4 separate regions of the Homo sapiens genome follow, and regions 1, 2 and 3 are each linked to region 4. The links are contacts of gene promoters, found by promoter capture Hi-C in human tissues and cell types (Jung and others, 2019). All regions are on one chromosome and are shown on one strand. Each heading gives the region's core, a stretch centred on a gene start or on the middle of the fragment in contact. The rest is flanking DNA. Distances are from core to core; before and after follow the strand shown.

Region 1 (3,361 bases), core at 498-2,997, 220 kb before region 4:
ACAAGCATGAGCCACCGTGCCCCAATTTTTTTAATTAAACGTTGACCCAATCAATATTCTGGATAGAGAGCTATCTCCCAGCACCCTGTTAAGTTAAGCACCCTGTTAACTAACAGCACCCTGTTAGTTAAGAGGGTGAACTCTGGCTCCAAGCCCTGCTCCACCCCTTTCTCCACGTTGGGCAAGAGACTCAGCCTCCTTATGCTCCAATTTCCTCCTGTGTCAGCTCCTTAGAAATCCATGTCATTAACATATTAGAGTTTTAGGACATGGTTAGTCATGGTGAGTGTTAGCTATTATTAACATCTATTAGTATTTTTGTAATAATGAGCTATGTAGGTTGGATGTTACCAAATTTTGAGGAAGAAGTGGACCATCTCTCCCCTCTTTTGACTGTCCAGCTCAGACTCTGGCGTCTCCTCAGATAAGGTAATCTGGCAGGAGAATGCCACCTGCCTGTGGTGCTAGCCTAGGGTAAGGAGTTGTCCAGACCGCCAAACGTCTTCCCAGGAGAGCTCATCAAGAGCCCATGAGTCCCCTGCCCACAGCCCACCTGCATTTTCTCCGTGAAATATCTACTTGAAGACAGGCATCTCACACCTGTAATCCCAGCACTTTGGGAGGCTGAGGCAGGAGGATAACTTGAGCCCAGGAGTTTGAGACTATCCTGGACAACATAGTGAGACCCCCAAAATTACAAAAAAAAATTTGAAAATTAGCCAGGTGTTGTTGCACACACCTGTGGTCCCAGCTACTCAGGAGGCTGAGGCAGGAGGAGGATTGCTTGATCCCAGGAGGTCAAGGCTACACTGAGCTGTGATCATGCCACTGCACTCTAGCCTGAGTGACAGAGCAACACCCTGTCTCAAAAGAAAAAAAAAAAAACCAATACGAGGGGAGCAAGGTGAGAAGTATGTGGTGGGTACAGGGAAAGAGAATAAGACTTGTCAAGAAATATGACAAGAGCTATCAGTAAAATACAGATAGGTGACTCTTGGGGCAGCTGGTGTGAAATGTAGTCTGTCAGCAGCAGGTGACTGGCTCAGCCGCAGCAATGGTGGTCCAGGTTAGAACAGCAGCTTCTCATCTCCTACCCTCCCACTCCTTGCCAGCTTTCTGAACACTTCTTCCCCCACAGTGCTGGTATTTACTGACTCCCAACTCTGCTTTCCTTGCAGCTGACCCTCTGGTGGGCAGCATCGCCACACAGTACATGACCAACAGAGCAGAGCATGACCGGATGGCCAGACAGTGGACCAAGCGGTACGCCACATAGGGGCCTGCTGCCTGCCGCCCCGCGGGACCTGTGCAAGCACATTCACCAAGTGCATCGGTAGCCCTGCCCACCCCTCCAGACCTCGGTTCTTATTTTCCTATTTTTATTAAATTTGGAACCATTTTGTGATGGTATGTTGTCCATCTTCCCATCCCAGTTCTTCCTGCCCCCCTTCCTCTCTCCCACGCTCTCTTTTATCTCTCATTTTATTCCCTTGTTGATTTCTGTTAACTTGAAAGATTTGGGATTTTTTCCCACCTCATCATAGATGGGAACTTTTGTTTTCAGTGCAAACAATGTTGGAGCTGTAATAGTAAGAGCTTTCTTACAAAGCTTTGTATTACTGTGTGGTTTTGTTTTTTTTGTTGTTGTTTATTTGATTTTGATTTTTTTTTCTTTTATGTGATCTTTGGGAAAACACATTCAGAATTATATCTCGTTTCTACTTAAATGTAGTGCTTAGGGTTAATTTTTTGTACTGAAGTCTTTATTGGTGGGTGCATGCTACTGGGAACAAGTTTTTGTACAAAAGCTTCAATCAGAATCACTGTGCATTACTGAGACTCTGTTTATCACTAGCCTTCTGTCCCTCCCGCAGAAGACTGTTGGATTGAACAAAATAATATGTATTTTGATTTACTTAAAGTGCTTGTAAATTTCTTAGGGACCTGCCACTTTTGACTGTGGATCAGTTGATGTACACTTGTATTATTAAAGCACTCAATAAATCACTGTGGCTGATAACTGCACTTCTGGTAACCCGACATTTGCTTTGTGTCCTGGTGACCGCTGTAGCCCTACGTGCAGTGAGGCTTGTCTAATTCAATTACAGGTTCAAGTGTATTTTTCATCTCAAACCTCTAATATTTCTTTGGAGTTGAGTTGCTTAGCATGTGGAATTTCTCCAGCTGTCAGTAGCCTGATGATTTTATGGTTGTTATAGTAAATTGCTATCATTTTACATATTGACTGGGCATTCTTTCTGTTACAGCCTTCTTTATCAACAATTAAAATATGTAACTCCAAAAATAGCCTTCTTGTGAAAGTGAAGTCTGAGCTAATCATTGTGTTCAGCCACTTTCAACTTTATTTCTCTCAAAATTGTTACAGTGATTGCCCTCAAGCTTTGTATTGTTCATTTTTGTTGTTGTTGTTGTTGTTGTTGCTGCTCTTTTTTCTCCATGATTTTAGCAAAAGAAGTAAACTCAACTGTATTGGTCACGGTCAGCCCATTCAATGACAAGGGTGTCTGTCTGGCTTCACCTTCAGGCTATTTTAGTGTGCAGCTATAGGAGGCAGAGGAAACGTGGGTGGTGTAGTTTCTAAAACACGCTGACTTGCTGATTGATAATTCAGGGTTATTAGTGTAACAAAGCGTAGTGGAAACTCCTACTCCTGCTGCACCATACAGTTACAGACCCTACCATACTCTTGGTCTCATTTAAGGAACCATTAACACCTTCACTGCTGAAAAGCAGGATTTATAAGCATAAGTCATCCACCTCTAAATATTTTAACATTTAAAATGCCTGATTCAAAAGATACAGTTTTTGTTGTTTTTAACTAGTTAAAAATAAATCCTAAGAAAATATATTTAAATATTGCAAATGCCACTTCTAAACCAAAATACCTGAGAATATTTTTTGTCTTTTTAATAACGATTTTACCATTCATTTTATTTAAAAACATTTCTCAGCATAGCAGGGCACTGTATGGTCTCTGATGCACTACTCAACCCTCTAGTTGTAGTAGAGGGAGCCACAGACAGTACATAAATGCATTGGGCAGAGCTATATTCCAGTGAAACTTTATTTACCACCATAGGCATGGGATTTGGCCCATGGGTTGTAGTTTGCCAATCCCTGACACAGACCAACATAGACTGGGGGCTGGATGAAAAACAAATAACGATGTGTCATTTCTTTCTTTAACATAAAATAAATTCAATATGGTACAACACTGATTTTTGGAAAGTTGCTCAGAATGTTTAATTGCCTACAGTTTCTCACCACAAAGTTTTTTATTTTTACTTCAGATTTTAAAATTCAGCACTAAAGGCATTGAACCATTGAAAATAAAATTTTA
Region 2 (3,134 bases), core at 378-2,877, 190 kb before region 4:
GGGGTACAGTGACACAATCTTGGCTCACTGAAACCTCTGCCTCCTAGGTTCAAGTGATTCTCTTGCCTCAGCCTCCCAAGTAGCTGGGATTACAGGCACCCCCCCACCAAACCTGACTAATTTTTTTTTTTTTTTTTTTTTGAGATGAAGTCTTGCACTGTTGCCTGGACTGGTGTGCAGTGGCACGATATCGGCTCGCTGCAACCTCCACCTCCCAGGTTCAAGCGATTCTCCTGCCTCAGCCTCATGTGAAGCTGGGATTACAGGTGCCCACCACCACGCCCAGCTAATTTTTTGTATTTTTAGTAGAGATGGGGGGTTCACTATGTTGGTCAGGCTGGTCTCGAACTCCTGACCTCATGATCCACCTGCCTCGGCCTCCCAAAGTGCTGGGATCACAGGCATGAGCCACCACCCCTGGCTAGCTTTTGTTTTCTTTCTTGATTTCTTGGAAAGGAAGCTGTCAGGAGAAAATAGAAGAAGGATAATCCAAATAGACCTATGCTTCGACATGCAAAATATGCTCTGCAGATTTGCCCTAAGTGGCTTTGTGCAAGAGTAGGGGCACCTTCCTAAGTCCACAGGGAGGAGCTGTGGGGGCATCACTCATGCTACCTGGCCCGGTAGGAGCAGACAGGCTCTTGGCAACATATGCAGCACCAGAGTGCCAACCCTGCACCAGTGTCCATCTCCTCCGTAAGACGCATGTTAAGACTCTCCCATGTGCATCAAGCATTGCTACCCCCGTCCAACCAAGGTAAGTAATGGCCCCAACTCAAGTGGCCTTTAGCTCAGGGGAAGATTCCTGAGATAGGTCTTTAGTCCCAAATCTTTCAGAGCTCAGTGGCCTTTTGAGGAAGCAGGAATTTCAAAGAAGAGTTGAAAACTGGGCTCCCCTCTGAATCCAGCCCTATCGTCCCATATAACTGATACTTATTGGGTTTTTCTTTGTTTGTTTTTTGTCTTGTTTTGTTTTTGAGACTGGGTCTCGCTCTGTCGCCCAGGCTGGAGTACAGTGGTGCAATCTCAGCTCACTGCAACCTCCACCTCCTGGGTTCAAGCAATTCTCATGCCTCAGCCACCCAAGTAGCTGGGATTACAGGCACCCGCCACCACACCTGGCTAATTTTTGTGTTCTTAGTAGAGGCAGGATTTCATCATGTTGGCCTAACTGGTCTCAAACTCCTGGCCTCATGTGATCCACCTGCCTCAGCCTCCCAAAGTGCTGGAATTACAGGCATGAGCCACTGTGCCTGGCCTGTTTTTTGTTTTTAATGAACCTGTTGCCTAGGCTAGGGTTCAGTGGAGTGATCACGGCTCACTGCAGCCTCAACTTCCTGGGCTCAAGTGATCCTCCTACCAGTATAAACATTTTTTCTAGATCATGTTCAAGATGCAACAGGATCTTTATTTTCCTATACAAGTCAAATATGATATGCGTGGGAATTAAATTTGTAAATTATATTTTTTGTTTTTTAAGACAGGTTCTCACTGTTGCCCAGGCTGAAGTGCGATCACAGCTCCCTGCAGCCTCAACCTCCCCAGGCTCAGGTGATCCTCTGACCTTAGCCTCTTGAGTAGCTAGGACCACACATGTGGTGGCATGCACCACCACACTTGGCTAATTTTTGTATTTTTTGTAGAGATGAGGTTTCACCATGTTGCCCAGGCTGGCCTCAAATTCCCGACCTCAAGCAATCCACCTGCCTCAGCCTCCCAAAGTGCTGGGATTACAGGTGCGAGGCATCATGCCTGACCTTTATGATTTTCTTGAATAAACATAGACATTGACACCCCCATCTTAAAACTTGAAACTTATTTGTCTCATCTGGGTTCCTTCTTCAGGAAACTGACCCTTAGGCAAAGGACTAAAATTCACCAGATCACTGCATCCGGCCAGTAAGACACCAGTCGCTTTATTCATTTTCCTTACCCTTCCCTAGTTCCTGTTTTCCCACACACAATTCCATCCCTTCTCAGCTACATAAACCCCCAATTTTAGTCCATTGAGGAGATGGATTTGAGACTTATCTCCCATTCTCCAGGATAACGTCACCTGAATAAAAAGCCTTCTTCCCTGGTGATACTCGTTTTCTCAGTGATTGGCTCTCTATGTGGTGAGTGATGGGACCCAGATGGAACCCATGGTGTTTCAGTAACACCTCTTCCACTCAGGTAAGTGGGTATCTTGGTTTTGGCAGAGTCTGGCTTGAGCGAGTCACAGTGTTATAGGAACTCAAGACAGACCTTCTGAGGGGATGAAGACAGGATGCCAAAGAGAAATAAAAATAAACATGTGTCTAGAACGTGTGCCCCTTATGTTGTAGCATCCCAGGGAGAGCTTGAAGGTGCAGGGCCAGGAAGGAGCTGCTCCTCAGCACAAAATGACTCCACACACAGAGGTTTGAAGAAGCCCCTTGCAGAACCTGGAGATGGTCCCCTGAGGCCAAGGCTTTTACAATCTGTAGTCTCAGCTTCCATCTCCAGGAAGTCGGCCTTGAGAACTTCCTGTTTTTCAGGAAGCTGGTTCAAAGAAGCTGGTTCTGGCCTCTTCAAGGAGAACTACAAACCACTGCTCAAAGAAACAAGAGAGGACACAAACAAATGGAAAAACATTCCATGCTCATGGATAGGAAGAATCAATATCATGAAAATGGCTGCATTGCCCAAAGTAATTTATAGATTTATAGAATGTGTCTATCCCCATCAAGCTACTATTAACTTTCTTCACAGAATTAGAAAAAACTACTTTAAATTTCATATGCAACCAAAAAAGAGCCCACATAGCCAAGACAACCCTAAGCAAAAAGAACAAAGCTGGAGGCATCACGCTACCTGACTTCAAACTACACTACGAGGATACAGTAACCAAAACAGCACAGTACTGTTACCAAAACAGATATATAGATCAATGGAACAGAACAGAGGCCTCAGAAATAACACCACACATCTATAACCATCTGATCTTTGACAAACCTGACAAAAACAAGCAATGGGGAAAGGATTCCCTATATAATAAATAGTGTTGTGAAAACTGGCTAGCCATATGCAGAAAACTGAAACTGGACCCCTTCCTTATACCTTACACAAAAATTAACTCAAGATGGATTAAAGACTTAAACCATAAAAACCCT
Region 3 (2,990 bases), core at 250-2,749, 240 kb before region 4:
TAGAGAGAGGCCCAACTCTAATTATTACACTCTCATGAACAGTGAGAAACTTGGAGATTTCTTTTGTATGTCCTTATCCCAAAAATAGGCATGGCTTTTTTTTTTTTTTTTTTTTTTTTTTTCAGTGAAAGAGGTTTGCAGCTGGACTGGGAGAATTAAGGTGAGAAAGGTCAACAGGTTACAGAGGCCAGTGCAACAGGGCTTGTTAGACGTAATCAAAGACCTGCTTAGGGAAGCTGCAGGAAGCAGAAGGTTGGGATTTCCACCTAGGGAGGTTATAGGGGCCCTCTGGCTAAAGGGAAGTTGGCTCAACTCTGAAAAGGTTTAAAATCCAGTTTAAAATTCTGATTAGGAAAATCCCACAATAAGCAGTTGGTCTTTTTAAATGTTTCCCCTCTCACAGGGCAAGATGCTTCTGCCTAATAGTTCAGCATCATTGGAAAGGACTTAGTGTGTTCGCAGATCACTTTGATAAGCGCTTCTGCCACCTCTTTTCTTTCCTCCTTTTTGTGCTTTAAGAACCTCCGTCATGAGATCGTTTTCTTCTTTCTGAGATTGGTCTCCCTAGGGAAGACCAGAATGACAATGTAGACTAAATTGTTGTCCAGAGTTGTCATTCATTTGTTGCTTTTGAACTTAGAGAGATGGAAGCCACTACATATTAATGCGTTGTTTTAATGTATAAGCCAACACCTCACACTTACTGAGCATAAAGTTTTTTGCCATGTATTTTCCCTTTTTTGCAGTAGTCTTAGCCCTCTGTCAAATTAACATGTTTGCCTCTTTTGAAAACTCATATTTCCTCCTGAAACAGTAAGAACTAAGGAGAAGAGCAAAGCATTGGAACAGTCCCTGCTGAAGACAATAGTATGATAAGAACATTGAAAAATACAATTTAATAGGCTAAAATGCATTTGGGACATCAAGTTATTGGCCAGAATGCATCTTTATGCATAGCAAGCCTTGCCAGTGGGGATCTCATGGGGAGTAATGGTGATTAAAAGGTTTTTGAAGAGCGAAGTTGTGTAACCAAGCTTGTATAAGAGACTGAAACTTGGTTCATCTCGTAGTGGACAGCCTGAAGACAGACACTCCAGACATGTGTTAGTCCATTTGCATTGCTATAAAGGAATAACTGAGGCTGGGCAATTTATAAAGAAAAAGTTTTATTTGGCTCACAGTTCTGCAGGGTGTACAAGAAGTATAGTGCCAGCATCTGCTTCTGGAAGGGCCTCAGGAAGCTTCCAATCAATGGTGGAGAGTGAAGGCAAGTCACATGGTGAGAGAAGGAGCAAAAACGAAAGCAAGAAGTTGCCACACTCTTTTGAACAACCAGATCTCATTACCACTCATTACTGAGGGAAGAGCACTGAGCCGTTCATGAGGGATCCACCCCCCTGACCCCAACACCTGCCACTAGGCCCTAGCTCCAACATTGAGGGTCACATGTCAGCAGATTTGGAGGGGACAAATACCCAAACCATATCAAGAAAGTATTTGGTGGCCCAGTTAAGAGATGACAAAGGCTACAAAGAGGAAGGAAAGGGGAAAGGCCAAGAGATATCTGGGAATTAGAATCCTCAGGACTTAGTTTCCTTACCACTATGGCAGTATCAGTAGTGACTGTGTCCCAAGCTCAAGAAAGTGAACTTGACTGTGCCTGGTCTCTCACAAATTTCCAGACCAGTCTTAGTGAGGTAAAAAGATGCATTCTAGGATCAGTGAATATTATTTAGTCATTTCATGTACCCAGTGGGTTAATGCTTCTATAACTAAAACAAGCCATTCCCCCTTTTCTGCCAGCAGAAAGATGGAAAACAAGGTTCACAATATGCTTCCCGTGATGTGTTAGGATTTGTTTGGTCATGATTTTTTATCCATAATAGAGGGATATAGTAAGAGTTTGAATCCCAGAAATAGAACTGCCCACTTACTTGGCTGAGGCAGGGGTAGGGGAGAAGCACTGTGTGTGGACAGAATTTCGTCAGGTGGTAGAACATGTTGCCTAAGGGGTTTAAACAACAGTATGTTCGAGTTCAGGCAAGATGTCAGTAAAACAGGAAACTACTGAATACAGACTAAATGTAAGAATCTTTATATATGATAAGAATCGAAACCTTCAGGGACTGAAAGAAGGTCATGGGGAATCTGGAAGACCAAGCAAAAGGTCACTTATAGGAAATGGATCATGTCTGCTTTAGATTCAAAGCCAAGACAGCTGTATATTAAACCCCAAAAAGTGGCACCAGACCTGTCAGAATGCTCACCACGCCAAGTCAGTGACTTAAAGAGTCAGTGATCCTATGGGTATAAATATCAGTTAGGCCCAAGAATGGAAATGAAGAAGGATGTCTAGTCTGGAAGAACCTGCCACCACCCACAAACTAAGTCATCTTGACCAATAGGTTGAACTGTACATGAATCCATATATTAAACAAATACTTACTGCATGGTCATCTGTGGTATCCTATATCCTAGACACTTTGTTGGTTTTGTGATATAAAACTGAAAGAGACACTGCATCCCTCAAGGAGAGGGGGAAGTTGGCAGGCACAGAGCAATAAGTTTCCTCCTTTTTAGAGGTAATGGTTGGTCCCACCTTTAGCAGAAGATTCATATAACACCCTCTCACAGGAGAGAACAAGAGCAAGGCCTCAGCCCAAATCAGAGCCCACACTTTCAGTGGACAGTCACTCCTCAGCACAGACAGCACCCATGTGACTCACCAGACTCCCTTGACCACAGTTTTTCCACAGTCAAAGGCAGGCAGAATGGTCTATAAACTGAAACCACTGGGTTATTTTTATTTCTTGGCTCAAGTTCAGATTCCCACACGTGGTGGAGACCACGGATACGTAACAATGTCTAGGGCATGACTGTTGTATTCACACCCACTATCACAATTCCCTTGTCCTACTCTTACCCACTGAAGAGGAATGTGAACAGAAAAGACTTTGGGGGGTGGAATTGATATATTTTGCAGTACTAGT
Region 4 (3,194 bases), core at 25-2,524:
TTGTGTTGTCCTGTGGTAACTGAAGCCACTGTTGCTGTGGAAAATGATGGCAGTTTGAATGAGATAATTTAGAGTGACCTATGGAAATCTGAGGCTGTCTCCTTAATGTACAAGACCTTGTATGTGTGGCACTGTTGTATTTGAATGGCACACATCTCTTTAGTTCCCTTCAACTGAAATGACAAAAGGTGAGAAACTGAATCGTAATTTGATGGCTTAATATTAAAAAAAAATTGGCAAAAATGCTAAATAAGGAACAATTCAGAAGAATTGCTGATCATTTCAAAAATATTATTTGCATAGCATTTATAGGTAGCTAAAGAAAGAGAAAAATGGCTTAATATTTTAAAAATAATTTGGTCAATTTAGCGATCTGGGGATTCTGCGATCCCCAGAACTTTGCATCCAATTTCCAAAAACCAAACCTTACATCTAATGTAAAATGACACAAAAAATTCTAAATCCAGTCTAATTCAGTAGTATATAGCTTATTCCCAGTGATGTCTCACATTCGCAAGCCCGTTACACGTTGGTTTTACCTGTCACCAAAACCTTTGTATCACTCTTATAAAAAACCACATCACTTTCTATAAAAAGTGAGTGGAAGAATCTAATATTGTAAAACTGCACGTGCCTCGCGTGACCTGAGCAGAAAATTCCTAGTTTGGGATTTTCTCACAGGCATACCTAAACTGACCTCTGCTCCTAGCAGGTAAATTGCTAGAAGGAGAAGCAAGTGTCAGTCCAAAGAAAACCCTTGTTGTGTGATTTTTTTTTTCTCTTTAATCGCTTTTTAGGTGGAGTACCCGCTGCATTCTCTAAAGTCTTTGCCACCACCAGATTACCAACGTTTTCACCAATTTGCCACCTCCCTACTCCTCTCCTTTCCAAAAGCCCTCATTGGAAAGAACTTTCTCTCGTGACCCCCCTATTCCATCTAGTTCCAATCACTCCCAGCGCCCCCCATCTCCATCGGCTTCCCCTCTCCCGCCCAGAATCCAGGTTCCCAAACCACTTAAGAGAAAATTCACAACCCTCGCCCCCTTCCCGGGCGTCCGGAGGAGGCGCTGGGGTGGGGGTGTCTGTGGGGGACAGGGTTTCCTGGGGTCTCCTGGGTCTTCCTCGCGCACCCCCAGGAGGTGTTGCAGGGGGAGGGGAGCGCGGGTGGGTGGGACCGGGCCGGGTGGGGGAGGGGTGAGGGCGAGGAGGAGGAGGAGGAGGAGGCGGCGGCGGAGGAGTGGTGTGTGTGCGAGCGTGTGTGGCTGGGGGAAGCCATTGCCTGTTTAATAGTTGCTGTTGCTGCACTTCCGCTTCTCTCCCAGCGAGAGAGAGACACGAGTGGCCAGGCCCAGCCGCAGCCGCAGCAGCAGCCGCCGCGGCGGCACGGAGGAGCCAGACACAAAGAGAGGTACGGGGATCCCCCCAGCGGCCCGCCGCCCCCCGGCCGCGCCGCCGGGCCTCGGGGACACCCCTCGCCGCCTCCCCCGACTCGCGCCGCCGGGGCCGCCGGGCCGCAGGGCACGGGGCCGGCGCGGGGGGGGAGCGGAGAGGGGCTGGGGAGCCCCAGGGGTCCGGGGCCCGCCCGCGGGGGATGGGCAGGGACCCCGGGCCGCGTGGGGTGCGGGGGCCGCCCGCATTGAGGACGGGGGTCATTGTGGCTCGAACTGTCAGCGCTGCCCCAAGAGCCCCCCACTGGCCACCGAGGGGCCCGGGAGCGGGGGTGGGAGGGAGTTGGGGGAGCCCCGTTTTCCCCAGGGGCGGGGGTTCGCGGGGATTAACCCCTCCGGGGCGGAAGGGCTCATTGTTATGTCTTCGCTGCGGAGGCCGACCCCCCCATTCCCCGCCGCAGCCCCTATCCCCCTACAGGAGTGGCGATCGGGCGTGTGCTCCGGACCCCCGCCCGGCCGCATAGCTGTGAGCAGGGCGGCCAGAGGCAGGCAGGCCGGGAGGGGCGTCGGGGCGCGGCGCGGGGGGGCCTCGGGCCTCGTCGCCCCTGCCCCCCGCCGGCCTCTCCCTTCCCCCACCCGGGCACCCGCTCCCCGCCTCCGTCCCCCTGTTTCGGCTTCCTCTCTTACTCCTTCCCGCCCCTCCTCTCTTCCCGACCTCGCCAAACTCCGCTCGTGGCCCCACAGTCTCACCCGGGCCACCGGCCCCTCACGACCCCCGGAAAGCGGACAAAAACAGCCCCGAGGCCGGCCGGCCGCCGGGACCTTCCCTCCCTGCCCCGCCGTGGCGCCCCGCGCCCCCCGCCCTGCCCTCCTTCGCCTCCCGGGCTACTCCCTCCCTGCCCAGCGGAGAGCCCCGGGGGGCGAGGGAGGGGCCTCTCTCCTAGCTCCAGACCGTTTTCCCACAGCGTTCCCCACTTGGGGCCAAAAATAAACAAGCCGCGTCCGATTTGCAAAAGCCTTAATGGGCCTGCAGACTTTGAAAAGCGAGTGGAGGGCGGTGGGCGGCCGCGTGCGCCCCTGGTCAATGCCCTCCTGACAGCACCCGAGTTCCTTATTTACACTGGCTGCATGGTTTGTGTGTTTCTGTTTTGTTTCTCTCCCCCTGCAGGGGCTGTTTGCGGGGTGGGGTGGGGGGTTCGCTATGTCGGATGACGATTCGAGGGCCAGCACCAGCTCCTCCTCATCTTCGTCTTCCAACCAGCAAACCGAGAAAGAAACAAACACCCCCAAGAAGAAGGAGAGTAAAGTCAGCATGAGCAAAAACTCCAAACTCCTCTCCACCAGCGCCAAGAGGTACTGTGCTCTTTTTTTTTTCCACAGGCTTCCTATTTCCGAACTGCCTCTTGCTGCATTTGGTCTGCCTCCCAATGAGGATAGCTTAAACGCTCCTCATGGTTTATGTGTTCTTAAAAATGAAAGAAGGGCCTTGGAAGCCCTAATTATTTTCTCTATTGCTGCTTCTGTTTTTAAATCATTGCTCACATGCAGCTGTTGCGGCTTGCCTCTCGCATTTCTTGCTGAAGTTTGTAAGATTCCTCGTTACTTTTATTAGTGACCCCCAAATCTGATTTCAGATTTCTTGTCCTACTAATGGTTAATCTGTGACCTTCCCCAAGGCCATGATCCCATTTCTTAATTACTAATACCAGCCCAGAGAACTGCATCAAAATGAATTCTGTGACCATTTTACCTTCTCCTCACCTGTTGCATGGATGATCTTTTCTAAATAGAGCTTTCTTCACAAAT

Evidence for each region. The method cuts DNA at HindIII sites, captures the fragments that hold promoters and counts their contacts. A contact is called where the count stands out against the background at its distance.
Region 1: a contact is called between a fragment that was not itself captured here and the fragment with the promoter of UBE2E1 in region 4, in 1 of the 25 tissues and cell types used here (mesendoderm cells).
Region 2: a contact is called between a fragment that was not itself captured here and the fragment with the promoter of UBE2E1 in region 4, in 1 of the 25 tissues and cell types used here (IMR-90 fibroblasts).
Region 3: a fragment that was not itself captured here is called in contact with the fragment with the promoter of UBE2E1 in region 4 in 1 of the 25 tissues and cell types used here (IMR-90 fibroblasts).

The regions. Positions count from the first base shown.
Region 1 is chr3:23,588,556-23,591,916 of GRCh38, forward strand. UBE2E2 (ubiquitin conjugating enzyme E2 E2) reads left to right here. Exons shown (of 6, transcript NM_152653.4): 6 at 1,179-3,239. The coding sequence ends at 1,276. Among named protein-coding and RNA genes, the nearest start is that of UBE2E1, 220 kb to the right of the region's middle. RefSeq lists an enhancer at 1,231-1,730. The HindIII fragment of the contact is 5,004 bases long and covers 1-3,361 here.
Region 2 is chr3:23,614,683-23,617,816 of GRCh38, forward strand. No RefSeq gene overlaps it. Among named protein-coding and RNA genes, the nearest start is that of UBE2E1, 190 kb to the right of the region's middle. The HindIII fragment of the contact is 9,145 bases long and covers 1-3,134 here.
Region 3 is chr3:23,565,350-23,568,339 of GRCh38, forward strand. All of the region lies in intron 5 of UBE2E2 (ubiquitin conjugating enzyme E2 E2), which reads left to right. Among named protein-coding and RNA genes, the nearest start is that of UBE2E1, 240 kb to the right of the region's middle. The HindIII fragment of the contact is 6,098 bases long and covers 1-2,990 here.
Region 4 is chr3:23,804,681-23,807,874 of GRCh38, forward strand. UBE2E1 (ubiquitin conjugating enzyme E2 E1) reads left to right here and starts at 1,275. Exons shown (of 6, transcript NM_003341.5): 1 at 1,275-1,408; 2 at 2,557-2,741. The coding sequence starts at 2,590. UBE2E1-AS1 (UBE2E1 antisense RNA 1) reads right to left here and starts at 2,225. Exons shown (of 2, transcript NR_046652.1): 1 at 2,139-2,225; 2 at 1-34. RefSeq lists silencers at 1,211-1,320, 1,401-1,530, 1,721-2,020, 2,221-2,400 and an enhancer at 2,701-2,790. The HindIII fragment of the contact is 15,489 bases long and covers 1-3,194 here.